Regions from separate parts of the Homo sapiens genome. Here region 1 is linked to region 2. The links are contacts of gene promoters, found by promoter capture Hi-C in human tissues and cell types (Jung and others, 2019). All regions are on one chromosome and are shown on one strand. Each heading gives the region's core, a stretch centred on a gene start or on the middle of the fragment in contact. The rest is flanking DNA. Distances are from core to core; before and after follow the strand shown.

What was found. The method cuts DNA at HindIII sites, captures the fragments that hold promoters and counts their contacts. A contact is called where the count stands out against the background at its distance.
Region 1: a contact is called between a fragment that was not itself captured here and the fragment with the promoter of SLC35A3 in region 2, in 1 of the 25 tissues and cell types used here (hippocampus).

The regions. Positions count from the first base shown.
Region 1 is chr1:100,123,602-100,130,511 of GRCh38, reverse strand. SASS6 (SAS-6 centriolar assembly protein) reads left to right here. Exons shown (of 17, transcript NM_194292.3): 2 at 4,570-4,630. Among named protein-coding and RNA genes, the nearest start is that of SASS6, 5.9 kb to the left of the region's middle. The HindIII fragment of the contact is 5,984 bases long and covers 1-5,965 here.
Region 2 is chr1:99,967,138-99,974,297 of GRCh38, reverse strand. It overlaps SLC35A3 (solute carrier family 35 member A3), which reads right to left and starts at 4,302. Exons shown (of 8, transcript NM_012243.3): 1 at 4,136-4,302. The region is part of intron 1 of LOC124904230 (a long non-coding RNA gene); the gene reads left to right. RefSeq lists enhancers at 3,853-3,942, 4,663-4,712, 4,773-4,822 and a silencer at 4,063-4,262. The HindIII fragment of the contact is 9,355 bases long and covers 65-7,160 here.

The DNA.
Region 1 (6,910 bases), core at 1,724-4,223, 160 kb before region 2:
ACGGGGTCTCCCTGTATTGCCCAGGCTGGTCTTGAACACCTGGGCTCAAGTGATCCTCTCACCCCAGCCTCCCAAAATTCGGGGATTATAGGCGTGAGCCACCACGCCCAGCCCAGACGCCTTGGTTGAGTATTTGAGGCCAGTTCAGCTCAACAAATACTGGCAAATGTCTGCTGTGTCTCAGGAACTGTCCTAAGTGTGGAGGATGTAAATACGCACCCCCCTCTCCGTCCCCAACAACAACAAAAGCCAACAAAAACCTCTTTTCATTCTGTCCCTCAAGGAACTCACATTTTAATAGGGGAAATAAGATTTTCCTTGAACAGGCACCATAGCACAGATTAGGAGTTCAGGCTCTGGAGCCAGATTGCCTGGGTTTAAGTCCCAGTTCTTCCACTTACTGACAGATCTTGTACAATTTCCTTCTCTGTGTCTCATCTTTAAGTTGATGGTAATAACAGTACCTACTTCATGGTATTATGAGAATGGAATGAATTATACATATGAACTGCTTACAACAGTGACTAGAGCATAATAAATGTTCACTAAATTTTAGGTATTAATGTGTGACAAATGCATAAAGTAATATAAGTACACTAAAGTCAGAGAAGAAGGAAATTCAGTTGAGGACAGTGGTAATGATCAGGGAACTTCATCTGGTGGAAAATTATGCAAAATTTTGGAACCCATGATTTGACACTAATCTGCCTTTTCAGTTTTGTTTCCTAAGCTTATCTCTCCAATATGAAAGTCATACAAGCATTCTTGTTACCTTCTGAATATACCTGATACTCATTCTATACTATTACCCCTGCTGTTCCTTGTGCCTCAAATGCTTTTTTCTTTCATAACTTTCAGGTATGTCTTAAATCCTTTCACTATAAGGACCCTTCAAAGTTGCCTAAGTTGAAATGAATTGCCATTATTCAGTTATTAGATAGTGTGGTGTAGGTGAAAGATCTGAGTTTTCATTTGGGCTCTGTAATGTGACCTTAAACCATTATTTGGGCCTTAAGTTCTTCTTTTGTAAAATAAATAATATTTACTTATCAAGATTATTGTTAAATAAGATGATATATGTAGAATACCTGGCAGGTACTCAGTAGTGTTGGTAACCCTTCCCTCCCCTCTCATGGAGCCCTAAAATGCAATCAGAAGCAAATCTAGCAAAAAGTCATTAATCTCATCTCAATTTGAGGACAGAGACCATGGTTTTTTTTGTTTTGTTTTGTTTGTGTCATCCTATGTTCAAAAATTATTATTTTTTTTTTTTTAGAGAGAGGCTGTCACTCTGTTGCCCAGGCTAGAGTGTTGTGTCATAATCATGGCTTACTGTAATCTCAAACTCTTGGTCTTAAGCTCTCCTGCTTCAGCTTCCAGAGTACATGAAACTACAGGCATGCACCACCATGCCTGGCTCATTTTATAAATTTTTTGTAGAGATAGGATTTTGCTATGTTGCCCATGCTGGTCTTGAACTCTTGGCCTCAGGTGATCCACCCACCTCAGCCTCCCAAAGTGCTGGGATTACAGATGTGAGCCACTGTGCCAAGCCCCTGGACCATGTTTATTTCTGTTTGTATCCCTAGCACCTGGCACAATACCTGGCTTAAAGTACCTTTTATTTGTTTGATTGATAGTTTAAGAGCACAGCTACTGGGTGTCAGAGATGGCCTAGAATCCAGTTGTGCTAAAGCAAGCCTGATGTTTAGAATACTTTTTATTTAGAAGAACTCATAACTAAATCTAATGTCATTAGTATTAGACATCTATTGAGTACGACATCTATTGAGATGAGAAATAACATTTTATTGAGTTTTTATTGTTTTATATTGCTCTTATGACATTAACCATTATAAGGGAAAAAATAAGATTTGTGATTTTAGTTAGCGTATCCTCTGAAAGCTTGTATTTTTCTACAGCATATTTCTAGGGATGTTTTTTAACTAAGCATGGGGAATTCGTTTAACTTACAGGCCTTCCGTTTTTTCTTTCAACATCTAATGTATATAGGCATTTGGAATATATGCAACAATATCATTAATATGATTGGTAAATTGTCATAGTAATATAACTCTTCCAGGATTATGTAAAGAACACTTTGATAAGTGAATTCTTCTTGTACTTTTTGCAAATATATGAAGTATGACAGGACTTTTAAAACCGTAAAACACCGTCTAGGTGCAGTGGCCCACGCCTGTACTGCTATCACTTTGGGAGGCTGAGGTGGGCAGATCACTTGAGGTCAGGAGTTTGAGACCAGTCTGGCCAACATGGTGAAACCCCATCTCTACTAAAAATACGAAAATTAGCCAGGTGTGGTGTTGTGCCCCTGTAAACTCAGCTACTCAGGAGACTGAGGCAGGAGAATCGTTTGAACCTGGGAGGCGGAGGTTGCAGTGAGCCAAGATCGCACCATTGCACTCCAGACTGGGTGACAGAGCGAAACTCTGTCTCAAAAATAAATAAATAAATAAATAATTAAAATAAAAATAAACTGTAAAGCACCATAAAAAGTTAAATACCAACTGCAGTATCATACCACTATGGCATTTATACTAGAGAAAACTTCAGAAGATGAAAACCAAACATAATGATGTAGAGCTAAAAAGGTTTTCACAAACCTTCTAGTTGAATCCACTTATCTTACAAGTTCGGAAACTGAGTCCCCCCCTCCCCCACCCCACCACGAAAGCTTAATCTTGCTGTGTTGCCCAGACTGGACTTGAACCCCTGGGCTCAAGCTATCCTCCTGCCTCAGCCTCTGAAGTAGCCAGCACTACAGGTGGGAGGCACTGTGCCCAGCTCAGGAAAGCTTAAATGGAATTGGAGTAACACTCTAATCTGTTTCACATATGTTGCTTTAGATACTAGAAAAATAGCAACAGTGTATTCTCTTGTTTTGAAAATAATTCTTCCTCTCTCTGGTGTAAACCAGTGCTTCTTGTTCCTTTTCAGAAAACAGATACAAGTTATGAGGTAACATTTAACCTTATTGTACAAACGGAGATTTAGCATCCAATCATATGTTCAACAAGAAACTTAACTAAAATGACACATTTTAAACCCATATAAAATTACAAGTCAGCATTAAAAAATCTAAACAATTGAATCTAGCCTTGATCAACTGTTTCCAAGTTTTCCTATCAGTACTCAATTGCTGTTTATACTTTTTACTTGTGTAGTAGATAAGCAATAGTGTGGAAAAGGTTTAAAAGAAGTCCTTAGAAGAAAAACTTAAAATTGAACAAATTCTATTTGTTAGTTTACTTTTTTCTACCTGCACATCAAAGAAAGGCCATTGTTATTTAATTCTGGCAGAATAGTTTGAGAAGTACTTGTGCATAGGTATTTTTTACTAATTTCTCCCTTTATTTTCTGAATTATATAAGCATTTGTGCTCTATTTGATTAATGTTTATGAGCACTTTCACCTATATACCTCTGTCCAATTCTGGATTCTCTAAGATACAGCATAGGATGTGGAACACTGTGGTCTCTCCCTCTCAGGGCTTAAAGTTACTTTACTCAAGGATAAAATAGGTGTAATAAACTTGTTGATAATACTTCTGTGGTTTTATTACATAAAGAATATATTAAGCAGATTTAATTCGTGGATGTGAAAATACGTTTTTGTATGAATAAATGTAGGGAATATGTTATTTCCTTGATTTTAAACATTCAAAGCATTCTAATATCGCTTCACATATTAAGTTTTTATTTTATTTTATTTTATTTTTTGAGACAGGGTCTCTGTTGCCCAGGCTGGTGTGCAGTGGTGCAGTATTGGCTCACTGCAGCCTCTGCCTACCAGGTTCCGCATTTCTCCAACCTCAGCCTCCCAAATAGCTGGGACTACAGGTGGGTGCCACCACGCCTGGCTTGTTTTTGTATTTTTTGTAGAGATGAGGTTTTGCCGTGTTAACAGGCTGGTCTCCAACTCTTGACCTCAAGTGATCTGCCTGCTTCAGCCACCCAAAGTGCCAGGATTACAGGTGTGAGCCACTGCGACGGGCCACATACTAAGTTTTTAAAATGCAATCAGTCTCTCATTAATCAGTTTGATTACATGACATGGTAATTTTTTAATGTGAAAAGTTGTTACTAAATTGGTGGTTTGTCTTTCTAGATGTTATTTTAGAATCAGGGCAGTAAGGGTATATGAGGTTCTTACCTCATTTAATCCTCAAAACATCCCCATTTTACAGTTGAAAAGTTACTAAATTGATGGTTTGTCTTTCAATAGATGTTACTTTACAATCAGGGCCGCAAAGTCATATATCAGGCTAGTGCTAGGCACTCCACAGTGTTTATTTCATTTAATCCTCACGATATCCCCATTTTACAGGTGAGAAAAATTTAGTTTTAGGTTAAACACTGCTAGATTACTCACTAGTGGAACAAGAAGAAATTAAGCTTCAAATCCGGTGTGCTTTTCAAACTTCTGTTCATAAGTTAGAGAACACCTGTGGAAAGTCTTGTCACTTAAGACTGAAAACTTAATACAAATGATAGTGATAACTCATTTCGTGTGAATGTTTCTGATGGTTGGGTATGTCTTTTCCTACAGGAGAGTAAGTATAAGAATGAGCATTGAACTACAATCAGTTTCTAATCCAGTTCACAGAAAGGTTGGTATTTAGTCCTTTTTTGAAATATCATTTCGGTACATTGTAGACAATTAGTTTTGTTCTTTAAGAATGTGACATCTTTTATTGCATTTATTTTGCTTTTACATTTTAGGCTATTTTGCAACTGTTGGAAATCAAGGGTGGTGGAATCTACTGAGACAACAACTGAAGGATAATTATACTATATATTTCTTTTTTTTTTTTTTTTTTTTGAGATGGAGTCTTGCTCTGTCACCAGGCTGGAGTGCAGTGGCACGATCTCGGCTCACTCACCTCCCGGGTTCAAACAATTCTCCTGCCTCAGCCTCCCAAGTAGCTGGGACTACAGGCATGCACCACCACGCCCAGCTAATTTTTGTATTTTTAGTAGAGACGGGGTTTCACCATGTTGGCCAGGATGGTCTCGATCTCTTGACCTTGTGATCTGCCCACCTCGGCCTCCCAAAGTGCTGAGATTACAGGCTTGAACCACTGTGCCCGGCCTATACCATATATTTCTAAAACATACGTGAAAAATTGTGGGGTGGGGTGACATTCTCCTTAGATTTGCCCAGTGCACTTAGAAGTTGCATATTATATATATATAATAACATATATATAAAAATATATTTTATTGCTGTTGGTCATACACACACACACACACACACACACACACACACTGCTGCCTTGTAGAATTGGCATTTCATGGTATAAATGTAAAAACAATAAACCGAAGTACTGCAGGGAGATATTTGTGAATCTTTTACTTTACGTTTTGAAGAGAGGCATTTAGAGTATCAGTCTCATATAACCTTCAAAAGTGTGAGTCATTAACAGAACTAAGGATATAGAATAGAGGAGGGGTCCCCAACCCCCTGGCCACTTACTGGTACGGTCTGTGGCCTGTTAGGAGCCAGGCTGCACAGCAGGAGGTGAGTGGCAGGCAGGGAAGCGAGTGTAACCTCCTACGATCCACCTCCTGTCAGATCAGTGGTGGCATTAGAGTCTCATAGGAGTGCAAACCCTATTGTGAACTGTACATGCAAGGGATCTCAGCTGTATGCTCCTTATGAGAATCTAATGGCTGATCTGAGGTGGAAGTTTCATCCTGAAACCATCCTTCACTCCCTAATTCTTGGAAAAATGTCTTCTACAAAACTGGTTTCTAGTGCCAAAAAGGTTGGGGGCCACTGGAACAGAGAACTAAGAAATACGGCATCTGTGCCAAGGGCAGTGCCTCACACCTGTAATCCCAGCACTTTGGGAGGCTGAAGTAGGCAGATTGCTTGAGCCAGGAGTTTGAAACCAGTGTAGGCAACATGGTGAAATCCCATCTCTACAAAAAAATACACAAATTAGCTGAATGTGGTGGCACACTCCTGTAGTTCCATCTACTTGAGAGGCTGAGGTGGAAGGATCACTTGAGACTGGGAGGTTGAGGCTGCAGTGAGCTGTGAGGGTGCCACTGCAACCTAGACTGGGCGACAGAGCGAGACCCCATGTCAAAAAACACTGAAATATAGCATCTGTTTTCTGTGTGCCATAGCTTTCCCTGAACACATTCAAGGACCTAGTAGTATTAATAGTACCTTTGGTTTTTTAAGTAGCATCCTGGGTGAATTTCAGGAAGTACTTAAATAGAAGCTGCTTAAGAACAAGGCATTCTGAGGCAGAGCAGGTGCCTAAATTACTAATTTTCCAGAGTAGAGATGATATATTATACTTCTTACATGTTATTCCTTATGCCTGCTGTACCTCTTCATTTTCTAGCTTGGTGCATAAGTGGTTTAGATTTTTCTAGGATCTTAGCATTTCCTCAGTAGACATGAGTAGAGATTTTATTTCAAATGAATTCTTAACCTTAATGCCCAGTTCTTTATTAGTTTTACATCATCTTGTAACTAATGCTGTTTTTCTTTCACCAGTGTTCTCTGGTACATAATTTTGGTGTACTTTTTGTGAGCTCTAGCTGTTATGATGGTCTCCCACACTATGTACACGTAGCTACCTGGAAAGTGATCTTTATGAAAGGTACTTACTTCATTTGAGACTGAAAACAGTTGGGCTTCCATATCAGTGGCCACCTGGCCTAGGAGAGAATAGGCTCTTTGGAAGAAGCCTGGCAACGTGTTACCTGATACCCTGGTCTTCTGAGAGACAGAAGCTCTTTTTTCTAGTGTGGATTATTGTCAGTTCTGCTGATATATTTGCCACTTTTGAAATGCCATACCAGTTAACTTTAAGGAAACTAAAAATAAAATTGAATGTGGTATGTTCAGTGGTAAAGAAAATTTTCATCAT
Region 2 (7,160 bases), core at 3,053-5,552:
GAATATAAATCAAATAAAGTGATTATTATACTACAATGCCTTATTCATTGAATACCTTTATAAAACCTACTCATGATAGAAAATACTATTAGAAATGCTGTTTGAAATTGGTTTTATAGCATATATGAATTTAGAAAAAAAACTTACATAACTTTTACAGAAAAAACTCAGCTCTAGGTAGATATAAAGTCCTATGTAGATACTTTGTGGAATGAGCTTGTTTCTTAGCATTTTATCTGACATGACTTCAAAGTTTCAGCTTCATTTTTTTTTTTTTTTTTTTGAGATGGAGTCTCACTCTGTCGCCCAGGCTGGAGTGCAATGGAGCGATTTTGGCTCACTGCAACCTCCGCCTCCCGCGTTCAAGCAATTCTCCTGCTTCAGCCTCCCGAGTAGCTGGGACTACAGGTGTCCACCACCACGCCAGGATAATTTTTGTATTTTTAGTAGAGACAGGGTTTCACCATGCTGGTCAGGCTGGTCTTAAACTCCTGACCTCGTGATCCGCCTGCCTGGGCCTCCCAAAATGCTGGGATTACAGGCATGAGCCACCACACCCGGCCCAGTTTCAGCTTCATCGTAATTCTAATTTCCACTATGCTTCCTGACCTAGCATACCTTTTCAATCAAACTTCTTATCTCTAAGTACAGCAACTTATTTTAAACTGGCTCTTTGGTTTCATTTTAGATGGTGTCTCCAATATGGATGATAAACTAGAAAGAGTTCTGGTCAGGCAATCTGGATAGAGAAGCCAAGCAACATTGTAGCTTCTAAAGTCATTTTCACACTTATATATAAAACACTCGAATTTATATAAAAGATACATTAAAGAAACAATGATTAAAAATATATAACCACTACACTCCTTCATTAATAGAGATAATTAAGTTGAACATACTTAAGAATACATTGCTTTTGTGAGGATTAAAATCTAATGTTAAGCTACCAATTCATATTCACCTGAATCTTATTTAATAATAAATTAATACTCATGAATGACATTATTAACTGTCAGTGTGATGATGTTCAAGCTATTTCAGTTACCCAGACAGGTCTATAACTTACTCTAAATTTCTGGCACTTACATGCACACACACAGACAAATCCACAGTTGATTAACATTAAACAGAAACTTCACTCTCTATACTTCTCAGGAAAGGAAAAGCTCAAAAGTTATATTTCATGGCTACTGAACAAGTTTAGGCTTTCAAACGAGATTCTTTCCATTGATTCTGTAACTTATCCAATCACTCGAGCAAAATGTTGAATTTCTACTAAGTAAAAGGCACATGTTTCAGGACACAAATTATATCAATTTCAAATATAATTGAGGCAGCCTAAGGCGTATATGTAGGTCCCAGGGCAAATTATTTGGACTGTCTGAACTTTAATATTCTTATCTATAAAATAGCGGTGATAATAACTATCCTACACCAACGATTTATTACTAGGATCAAATGAGGTACTAAAACATGGAACAGAAAAGCATTTTCAAATATTAAATCCACAGTAAGTTTCTATAACAACTCAAGAGCTCATCTTGTCTCCAGAAGCACAATAACAGTCTGTTTCATTACATGATTAATGTAACAAATATTTAAGAGTCTAATACATCATGATGTGTTCAAGTACTAAAGTGCTTTAAAAATGTAGTAAGTACAGGCTGGGCGCGGTGGCTCATGCCTGTAATTCCAGCACTTTAGGAGGTGAGGTGGGTGGATCACTTGAGGCCAGGAGTTCAAAACCAGCCTGGCCAACATGGTGAAACCCCCGTCTCTACTAAAAATACAAAAATTAGCTAGGTGTGGTGATGCACGCCTGTAGTCCCAGCTACTCGAGAGGCTGAGGCAGAAGAATCTCTTGAACCTGGAAGGCAGAGGTGGCAGTGAGGCGAGAGGGTCACGCCACTGCACTCCAGCCTGCGTGACAGAGCAAGACTCCATCTCAAAAAAAAAAAAAAAAAAAGTAGTAAGTACAAATGCTTTCCTTAGGAAGCTTACATTACAGTAGGGATAATAGAACTCTCAAATTACAATGCAAATTTAACAAGTGTTGTAAGATTTATAAAGCCCAGCACACATGAAGAAAAAAAAATGGGCTGGGCGTAGTGGCTCATGCCTGTAATCCCAACACTTTGGGATGTCGAGGCAGGTGGATCACCTGAGGTCAGGAGTTCAAGACCAGCCTGGCCAACATGGTGAAACCCCGTCTCAACTAAAACTACAAAAAAATTGGCTGGGTGTGGTGGCGGGCACCTGTAATCCCAGCTACTTCAGGAGGCTGAGGCAGGAGAATCGCTTGAACCCGGGAGACGGAGGTTGCAGTGAGCCGAGATCGCAACATTGAACTCCAGCCTGGGCAACAAGAGCAAAACTCTCTCAAAAAAAGAGAAAAAGAAAAAGAAAAAAAGAATGAACTGGATTTATGGCAGATTTCAGAAAGCTGCATAAGAAAGAGATGGCATTTAAGGAATTGAAGAATAAGTAGAATTTCTACAAAGACAGCAAGGAAGGCCTTCCTTGTTTCTTCTTTGTAGGAAGAAATGATAAAAGCAAACACCAAGGCTGACAGGCATATAGCATGTTCAGAAACTGGACGTCTAATTAACGACTAGTTTGGCTAAAAAATAGGATATGTGGAAAAAAGTAATACTTGTTTAATAAAAGGAAAAAAGAAAGAATCATATTGGGGGCCGGGTGCGGTGGCTCACGCCTGTAATCCCAGCACTTTGAGAGGCCGAGGTGGGTGGATCACGAGGTCAGGAGATCGAGACCATCCTGGCTAACATGGTGAAACCCCGTCTCTATTAAAAATACAAAAAAATTAGCCGGGCGTGGCGGCGGGCGCCTGTAGTCCCAGCTACTCAGGAGGCTGAGGCAGGAGAACGGCATGAACCCGGGAGGCGGAGCTTGCAGTGAGCTGAGATTGCGCCACTGCACTCCAGCCTGGGCGACAGAGCGAGACTCCGTCTAAAAAAAAAAAAAAAGAATCATATTGATTTTACTGGAGCCACCGTCAGACTCAAATTCTGAAGGAAAAATCTGAAGCCTCCCTAAATAATATAAAATTTATTAAATGCCTCCCTAAATAATTTACATTTTATTCTGAAGCCGATCGAGAGTCACTGCGTATTTCTGAGGAAGGAATAACCAAAAAAAGAAAGTCATAAGATCTTTGGCTTTAAAAGTAATATGGAGGCAAGTGACTGGAAGGGTGCCAGGCTGAGGACAAGTCCAGTTTGGAAGTTATTGCTATAGTGCAAGTAAGAAGAGGAAAGACGAGCATATTTAGCAGACAGGTAGTGGGAATGAAAAAGGGGAGAACTAAATTTGAGATGCTGAAGAGATAGAATCAACAGTTGGGAGGAAAGTTAGCCTCAGAAATATAAGTTTACAAGTCATTCCCTTGAAACACCCTGAGTTTACCAGTGAAAGTGAATAAGAACACCAAGTAAGAAACTGCACCAAATTTCATCTTTAACTACTAAAGTCGAATGTTGATTTCAAAAACGAAAAGACTTAATTTTCAAATACTGCATTTAAGAGAACATAATAAAAGATCGTCTTTTACTATAAAGCAATGCACCCACACACCTGTTCTGATGAGAATCTCACCCCACTTCAAACAGTCCTTGTGTTCTTACTAGCCTTACCAAGGGCAGCCTTTCCATTTCTTTAAGTTCCTGCGGCTTCTTGAGCTCCAGGTGCTGGTCGGGTGCATCTGTGCCTACCACAGGGCTCAACACCGAGCGAGAGCTCATGGGATGTTCACTGAAGGAATGACGGGCCCCAGCCGGGCCCACCCGTCACTAGCTCCGCACGCACCAGGCGCTGAGGCACACACTGCCGTCTTCATTCGCTTGACACACCCCTCTCCTCGGGCCTTTTTTCCTCCTCCACCCAGTACATTCCGCACGTCGTCCGTCGGAGTTACAACGTGTCACCTCATCTGCTCCCACCCCTACTTAGCTAGCACTGTATTTCAGGTCTTCGATACCGTCCCCTTCACCCCTACAGACTTCACATCAGCCCCCTCGCATGCCTCCTCTTCCTCCTCCTCCAGGAGCTTCCCGGGCCGCCCCGCAGCCGCTAGCCTCCTGGTTCCCGCCCCTCCCCAGGTGCGCTGAGGACTCACCTCCCGCGCAGCTCGACCGGCTGAGCCCACCACCGGGGGCCGCGGTTCAGCTCCGCCGGGCGCCCCAGGCTGCCGAGTCCGCTGGGTCCTACGCGACCGCTGACCCGCAGCGCCGCCGGCTCCCGTCGCCGTAGCCACCGCCAGCTCGGTGCAGCCCAGGCGTTTCCGGGTTCCCGCGGTCCCGTCCCCCAAATGCTCCGGCTTCCGCCTCGGCTCTGGCAAATGCCGTTCCCGGCTCGGCTCTGGCAGCCCCAGCTCGGCACTTGGCAGCTCTGTCCCTAAGGCGACGCACCTGGGCTGCTCTGCTGGCAGCCCCTGGTTCCTGCTTCACCGTCGCGTGGAGGCCTGGGGCACTGCTTTCTGCTACACCTCTCCTAGGAGCGCGAAACAGATGGAGTGACACTCGTCGAGGGCCTCTGCGGGACTGTCTGTTTGCAGAGGGTGCCAAGGTGTCCACTGCGTAAGGAAGGGCAAAGTCCTTTGGGGCAAAGAACCCTGAGAGGAACGGGGAGATGGATTTTGAAAGCAAACGAACCCTCTCCTAAAAGTGACTGTCACTGACCTGAAAACAACCAGATTAGCTATGGCAAAGGCTGCCAACCAACCAGTGGTCTGCAAGAAGGCTTGTTCTTCCACTTCACCCACCCTGACTGAGATCTTGAGACTGAAGGAAACCCAAAGCCGTACCACCAATGGGCCTAGTGTCATCAACCGGGAGAGGAAAAAGAAAACTGGGCCCAGAGGATTGCAGAGTTATGAGGGACCAACCCCTTCCTGGCTGCATGGATCACAGCATTACCTTTTAAAAGTGTTCCAGTAGCTGTGTTGGAAACCCTCTAACCACGGCAGCCCATTCAGGTGATGAACAGGCTGAAATCAGTACTTCAGGTTCAGCTGGATTATCAAATAAGCGAATAGGATTATCTCTTTTTGTTAACTCAGGGCTGCTATAAATTAAGCCTATGTCTCTTTATATTGCAAATGATTAAAACCATGTCCAAGAGAGACATACTTAGAAAAAAAGTGATATTGAAGAAAAATAAGTAACTGTATTAGAGTAGAATAACTGGTTTTAAAATTTTCTGCAATACAGTCTTGAGAAAATTCCTGGATGGTAAAATACATATTAGATCTTAATACATGCCCAGTTTTTTTTGAAACCAAAATGTGCCTGTTAGATGATGATAACAGCATGCCTCGTTTTATTGTGATTTGCTTTATTGCTCTTCACAGACATTGCTTTTGTTTTTTTGTTTTTTTTTTTTACAAATTGAAGGTTTGTGGCAACCTTGCCTCAAGCACATCTATTGGTGCCATTTTTCCAACAGCATGTGCTCACTTTGTGTCTCTGTGTCACATAATATTCAATAATTTTTGCAATATTTAAATTTGTTCATCATTATTATATCTGGTATAGTGCTTTGTGATCAATGATCTTTGATGTTACTATGGTAATTGTTTTGGGGTGCTGATATGGTTTGGCTGTGTCCCCACCCAAATCTCAACTTGAACTGTATCTCCCAGAATTCCCACGTGTTGAGGGAGAGACCTAGGGGGAGATAATTGAATCATGGGGGCCAGTCTTTCCTGTGCTATTCTCATGATAGTGAATAAGTCTCATGAAATCCGATGGGTTTATCTGGGGTTTCTGATTTTGCTTCTTCCTCATTTTTCTCTTGCTGCAGCCATGTAAGCAAGTACCTTTCACCTCCCGCCATGATTCTGAGGCCTCCCCCGCCATGTGGAACTGTAGGTCCAATTAAACTTCTTTTTCTTCCCAGTCTCGGGTATGTCTTTATCAGCACCATGAAAATGGACTAATACAGGTGCCATGTACTGCACTCATATAGAAAGGCAAACTTAATTAATAAATGTTATGTGTGTTCTGACTACTCCACCAACTGCCCATTTCCCCACACTTCTCCCCCTTGGGCCTCCCTATTTCCCAATAAACAGCAATATTGAAATTAGGCCAATTATTAACCCTACAATGGCTTTGAAGGAAATCAAAATATTTTACCCCAAAATATACTACTTTGACATATTTTGAGATGACTGTTTAGAGGGCCTGCAATCAGAAGTAGCCTTTGCAGGCCAGATGTGGTGGCTCACGCTTGTAATCCCAAGACTTTGGGAGGCTGAGGCCAGCGGATTGCTTGAGCCCAGGAGATCGCGACCAGCCTGAGCAACATATTGAGATCCCATCACTACAAAAAATAAAAATTTAAACATGTACCAGTCATAATGGTACATGCCTTTAGTCCTAGCTACTCATGAGGGAGGCTGAGGTGGGACGATCACTTGATCCCAGGAGTTCAAGGCCACATTAAGCCATGATCATGCTACTGTACTCCAGCCTGGCTGATAGAGCAAGACCCTGTCTCAAAAAAAAAAAAAAAAAAAAAGTAGCCCAGTAGCCCTGCAAAACTGTCTCTTGTAGGGCAGATTTGCATCTGTGGAGAATCTGCATTAATGTAGCCAGGCTTTCTCTGAGGCCCTTCCTTGTCCAGATCTAGGAAAGATTTACTGAGATTCTGACACTTTTAAAGGTCTGAAAGAAACTTCCACCATCTATTCTCTCTGAGGGCTGCTACCCACCTTTGTTAGTCAGGCCTCTGCTTCTGTCCCTCCCGTAACTTGTTTTGCCACTATAACCTGATTTACCACCATAATCTATTTTTGGCCATGCTTGGAGCTCTCATTCTTTGTAAAGATGGTATACCCTTCTGTACTACATGGGGGATAAGAGTAATCACCCTGTGATTTCTCCTCATGTACACTAATAAATTTCTATGCCTTTTTTCTTTTCTTTCTTTTTTTTTTATTTATTTTTTTTTTAGTTAGGGTCTCTCTCTAGAAGGAGTGCAGTCGCATGATCATGGCTCACTGTAGCCTTGACCTCCAAGGTCCTCCTGCCTCAGCCTCCCACTTAAGCAACCCTCCTGCCTCAGCCTCCTGAGTAGCTGGGACTATAGGCACATGCCACCATACCTGGCTAATTTTTTTTTACTTTTAATAGAGATGG